Regions from separate parts of the Homo sapiens genome. Here region 2 is linked to region 1. Evidence: promoter capture Hi-C in human tissues and cell types (Jung and others, 2019). All regions are on one chromosome and are shown on one strand. Each heading gives the region's core, a stretch centred on a gene start or on the middle of the fragment in contact. The rest is flanking DNA. Distances are from core to core; before and after follow the strand shown.

The links. Contacts are between HindIII fragments. The study calls those that stand out against the background at their distance.
Region 2: a fragment that was not itself captured here is called in contact with the fragment with the promoter of HSDL1 in region 1 in 1 of the 25 tissues and cell types used here (IMR-90 fibroblasts).

The regions. Positions count from the first base shown.
Region 1 is chr16:84,143,654-84,146,487 of GRCh38, reverse strand. It overlaps HSDL1 (hydroxysteroid dehydrogenase like 1), which reads left to right and starts at 1,311. Exons shown (of 6, transcript NM_031463.5): 1 at 1,311-1,408. DNAAF1 (dynein axonemal assembly factor 1) reads right to left here and starts at 1,180. Exons shown (of 12, transcript NM_178452.6): 1 at 924-1,180. The coding sequence starts at 1,047. RefSeq lists silencers at 1,127-1,576, 1,737-1,786, 1,837-1,886. The HindIII fragment of the contact is 9,646 bases long and covers 1-2,834 here.
Region 2 is chr16:84,538,842-84,541,850 of GRCh38, reverse strand. No RefSeq gene overlaps it. Among named protein-coding and RNA genes, the nearest start is that of MEAK7, 36 kb to the right of the region's middle. RefSeq lists a silencer at 494-788. The HindIII fragment of the contact is 4,984 bases long and covers 1-3,009 here.

The sequences.
Region 1 (2,834 bases), core at 62-2,561:
GCCTCTGCCTCCCAAATTGCTGGGATTACAGGCGTGAGCCACCGTGCCTGGCCATGAAGGTTATCTTTCAAGTCCATTCTGGCAAACTTTGGTGAGGGGATCACACACTGACCCCAGAACCAAGTCTTCATTCGGACTCTCTACCCTAGGTCAGGCACTGGACTAGACTCCAAATTCAATCAAGATGTCTTGCCCTGACACAACATGCAGTCTGGAGGGAGAGAAAGCCTTTGATCTTACATAGTGATAGCAATAAAGGGACACATTTAAAGCATCAAAGTTGGGACCAGGGAGAATAGCGTGGTGGGTTAGGGCTGGGGCTCTGGAGACCCAGACTGTCTGGGCCTGAGTCTGGTGGGTTTTGTTTGCTTGTTTGTTTGTTTGTTTGTTTGAGACGGAGTCTCCCACTGTCGTCCGGGCTGGAATGCAATGGCGAGATCTTGGCTCACTGCAACCTCCGCCTCCCGGGTTCAAGCGATTCTCCTGCCTCAGCCTCCCAAGTAGCTGAGACTACAGGCGCCCGCCACCACGCCCAGCTCATTTTTTGTATTTTTAGTAGAGACAGGGTTTCACTATGTTGGCCAGGCTGGTCTCGAACTCCTGACTGACCTGATGATCCGCCCGCCTCGGCCTCCCAAAGTGCTGGAATTACAGGCGTTGAGCCACCGCACCCGGCCAAGTCTCTTCTGTCACTGACTAGCCGAGGGTTATCTGTTTGGTGCAAGTTTTGTAACCTCTTAAGTATGTTTCCTCCTCAGTACGAAATGGCGAGAGAAGCCCCTACTGCAGAGCGTTGCTTGCTACCATTATTATTATTGTTATTATTTGGCTGTGAAGATCGGGTATGTGGTGTGGGAAGGGGGCTGGAGCGCCTAGCCGTGTCTGCCCCTCGCCCACCGCCCTCCCTGGGGGGCAGTCGGCACCTTCCTTGCAGCCCCCTCGGCCTGCGCTCCCGTGGTCACCCGCAGACTCCTCCACGCCGGGCTCCTGCGCGCAATCCAGCTCTGCTGCACCACCTGTCGCAGGCTCCGAGGGCTCAGGGTGCATGTTTACTTCGGCGACACCGAACGCCCCGCAGCTTTGGGGGGCCCAGGTTCGCGGCGGACGTCGCTACGGCCCCAGCCCAGCCAGAGAGTACCCTCTTTCCTTCTTCGCCAGCCGCTGGCGCCCTAGTCTTTACAGCCCAACGCTTCCCCGGTCGCCCAGGCAACCGCTGCGCACGCGCACTCGGGACGGACCGGCGCGCTGGGGACGCCGGGGGGTGGGGGCGGGTCTGAGACGGCTCCGCCCCCGGCGCGTACGCGGGTCACGTGAGGGCGCGGCGCGGCAGCAGCTCCGGCGGCCGAGACGGGGGCGGCGGCCGCGCGGGTCTGGCGGGACCGGTTTGGAAGACTTTGCCGGCCTGCAGGTACCGCGCCCCCCGCGCCCTGGGCGCCCTCTCGCGGTCCTTTCGCCCCAGACCCCTCCTCGGTCCCCTCAGCGCCAGCCGGCTGCTTGGCGAGACCCCTCTGAGCTCTCACCACGCCCCCCAGGCCCCGGGCCCCCTCCGCTGCATCCGGCCCCGAAGCCCCTTGGCGCCCCTGACCCCAGGAAATCTTCGTCCCTCCGTCCCGTGAGACTCCTTCCTTCAGACCAAAAAGCCCCAGCCCCGCCCCTTCACATCTCAGAGCCCCCCTTCCCCCGGCTCCATCCTCACGCCCCCCGCCGCGGCGCTGCACCCCTGTTCTCTCTCTTCCCCCGGGCCTTGCCCCCCAAACCGCGAACCCCGTTGTCGCCGGCGCATGCCCTGCCCTCCCTGCAGCCTCTCACCCGGCTCCTCCCCCGAGCGGCCCCAGCAATCGCCTCCTTTGTCGGTGCTTCTTTATTCTCATTTCTGAACGATTTGGTTTGAGTTGTTGTTGCCGTGTTTTTCTAAAATGGAAATATGCAGCGGTCGTGGGTTCAGCCAGGATTTCCGAGTTTGCTCGTGTTGACTGGGCCTTGCCGGGTGCTGGAGGGGAAGGGCTGGGAAGAAGAACCAGGCAGGTCCCCGTTCTGAACGTGCCACCCAGACGCAGCCCCAGAAACCGGATCGCTGCAGCGCCCCTCGGCGATCCCAACATGATGTGTACAGGTGACTGCGAGGCAGTCGGGGGGTCTCACAGTGGGCTCCCTGGACAGGACTCTGCGCCTTGCTATACCTCCATCTGAATTGCAGGTAGCCCCTTTCTGAGTTGTGGGGTCTTGGGTGTGCGACTTTACATCTATAAGACTCAATTTCCCCATCTATAAACGGGAGAGTCTGACTGCGCTTTATAAGATTAATGAGAGAATAAAGTGAGACAATAGGAATAAAGCACTTAGCAGAGTCTTTTGCATAAAGTGAGCTCTCAATTTTACTCTGACCGCCACAGGAGAGAGAGAGAGAGAGAGAGGGAGGGAGGGAGAGGGAGAGGGAGGGGGAGGGGGAGGGTGTTGATTGATTGATTGATTCAGACAATCTCGCTCTGTCGCCCGGGCTGTAGTGCAATGGTGCCTGCGATCTCAGCTCCTGCTACCTCTGCCCGCCATCCCGCACCCCGGGCCCAAGTGATTCTCCTGCCTCAGCCTTCCGAGTAGCTGGGATTACAGGCACGTTCTACCACACCCAGCTAATTTTTTTTTTTTTTTTTTTAGTAGAGACGGGGTTTCGCTGTGTTGGTCAGGGTAGCCTTGAACTCCTGGCCTCAAGTGATCTGCCCGCCTTGGCCTCCCAAAGTTCTGGGGTTACAGACATGAGCCACTGTACCCGGCCAAGTTTGTGGTTTTAATCACTGCTGGAATATTCTAGGGCAACAGAGTTGAACATATTGGTG
Region 2 (3,009 bases), core at 260-2,759, 400 kb before region 1:
CATTTGATGTGATCATTTTTGCATTTGCCTGTTATTACACAGTCGTCATATTCCACTACGGTCGGTTTTCGATTCACTTAATTTTCTGAGTAGAGAAAACAATTCCTGTCTTTCTATTTTAGACTTATTAAATCTATAAATAAAAGGCTGCTGGAAAGAGGGCGTTTTCTGCTATAATAATAAGGCTTTATTCAAGGCATAAGGAATGTGGTTTTAAGAGGATGAAGCTGGACACAGTGGCTCATGCCTGTAATCCCAGCACTTTGGGAGGCCGAGGCAGGCAGATCACTTGAGGTCAGGAGTTCAAGATCAGCCTGGCCAACATGGCAAAAGCCCATCTTACAAAAATTACAAAAATTAGCCAGGTGTGGTGGTGTGCGCCTGTGGTCCCAGCTACTCAGGAGGCTGAGGTGGGAGAATCGCTTGAGCCCAGGAGGCGGAGGTTGCAGCGAGCTGAGATCACACCACTGCACTCCAGCCTCGGCAACGATGAGACCCTGTCTAAAAAAAAAAAAAAAGGATGGAGCCTGCAGCCACACTACTTGGATTCAGAATCCTAACTCTACTCAATCCCCACTGAGTGACCACTCCAGGCCTCGGTTTGCTTCATCTTGAAAATGGAGATGATAAACAGCTCCTGACTCACAGCTTGTCATGAGGATTAAATGAGGTGATACCTGTAATGTGCTCAGAACAGGGGTTGGAATGTTACAAACATATAGCAAGGGTTGGCTATTGATTACTAGGTACAATGGTCACTATTTTGTTCATCATAGAACGAAAGCCCAGCAAGAACCCCTGTGAACATTTGTGGGAATATTCTGCTGGGCTTGTATTAGTGCCTACGTAATATGCACATGCAGACACCAAATGTGCAGATTCACACATGTATACTGTTTTGTTATCTGTTTCTTGGCGACTCTAAATTTTTTCTTTTCTTTTCTTTTTTTTTGAGATGGAGTCTTGCTGTGTCACCCAGGCTGGTGTGCAGTAGAGCAATTTCAGCTCACTGCAACCTCCGGCTCCTGGGTTCAAGTGATTCTCCTGCCTCAGCCTCCCAAGTAGCTGGGACTACACCTCAGCCTCCCAAGTAGCTGGGTGCATGCCATGATGCCTGGCTAATTTTTGTATTTTTAGTAGAGACAGGGTTTCGCCTTGTTGGCCAAGCTAGTCTCGAACTCCTGACCTCAGGTTATCTAGCCGCCTCAGCCTGCCAAAGTGCTAGGATTACAGGCGTGAGCCACCATGCCCGGCCTAAATTTTCTTTCTGTGTCATTGTTGGGAGACAGTTCTCCATGGGTCTCTCAGGTTTCTACATGTCTTGCAAGTAGAAGAACTATCTTTACAAGGATGTTTATATAGCAAACAACTTTGTTAGACAGAGACAGTGTGTCCCCTCAGATCAAAGGGCAAATTTGTTTTCTGTCCAATATAGATAGATGTTTGCCCCCAGGGCAAGGATCAGGATTTCTTATAAGAAATTTGGGCTCCCTGAGCTCAGGGATCCTCAGCTGTGAGAAATGTGCTGTGTGCGCAACACCCACCCCTTCCGGGCCCCTTTGCATGGCCCCTGTGGGACTTGGGGACAAGGGAAACCGATGCAAACATAAAGCTCATGCTACTTGCTGTGCTGCGAGTAATAAAGTCACTTGTCTCTGACCCAGGAGGCTCGTGTCTTCTGCCAGCAACCATGGCACTGCAGCAGGCTCACCTGGGGGCTTTCACAGAGGGTCAAATCCCAGCTCATCCATGGGCCTTGAGAATCATGAAACAGTCTTCCCCAGCATCACTTCCAGGTTCTACCAGAGTCCCCTCATTTGGCCCCTCTATCATTCTTTGGGTTAATCTTCCATCTTTGGAAACGTAGCTTGCTTTCCATTTTGTCACTGTTTTAAACAATGCTGTAGTGTGCACTTGTAGCTGAGCTTCGTTCTCATGTGACTACCCCGATACTGTAAATCAGAGATTCTGAGGAGTGTTGGCAGGACCCCTGATGCCAGCAAGTTCAGCCTCTTGATGCCCATCGCACATTGAGGCCTAGTGGGTCCTGAGCCACTGGGAGTTCCCCTCACCCCTCATTCTCCACTGGCCTCTCTCCCTGGGCCTGTAGAATCTTCCCAGCCTCCCTCATCCTCCCGAGTCTCCCTGGGGGGCATTTAACACACTGGACTCTAATTGAGGGGTCCTTTCTCTCCAGATCCTGAGCTCTTTGAGGGCAGGGACTTCCTCATCCTTGTGTCCCCAGGACCTGGCACATTGGGTGCTCATCCAATGTTAACAGAACCTAAACAGAAACCATCAACAGATTCAAAAAGGACATCCAGGCACCGTACGTTAGGGCGTCGAGCCTACTGGTTCACTCTCGTACCTCTGTACTCCAGGAGGTATTCTGAGTGTCGCAGAATCACATCTACTGTCAGGGAGCTGCAGTCAAAGGAAACCAAGGACTGGAAGGAAGAGTTGCACTGAGGAGGGGCAGAGTCAGCTCCTTAACCTCCCTAAGGCTTCTCACAGTGAGCCCTCTAGAAAGGTTTATTTATTTATCTTTTACTTTTACTTTTTGATTTGTATTATTTATTTATTTATTTATTTGAGATGGAGTCTAGCTTTGTTGCCTAGGTTGGAGTGCAGTGGCGTGATGTCGGCTCACTGCAATCTCCACCTCCCAGGTTCAAGTGATTTTCCTGCCTCAGCCTCATGAGTAGCTGGGATTACAGGCATGTGCCACCACACCCGGCTAATTTTTGTATTTTTAGTAGAGATGGGGTTTCATCATGTTAGCCATGCTGGTCTTGAACTCCTGACCTCAGGTGATCCGCCTGCCTTGGCCTCCCAAAGTGCTGGGATTACAGATATGAGCCACCACGCCCGGCCTTATTTTTATTTTTTAAGCCCCCATTCTGAGAAGCAACTTTTATTTTTTATTGAGATACAGTATATACAGAGAAGTGCACACGTCTGAAGTGTACAGCTCCAAGAACACTCACACACTAAGCACAACCATGCAAT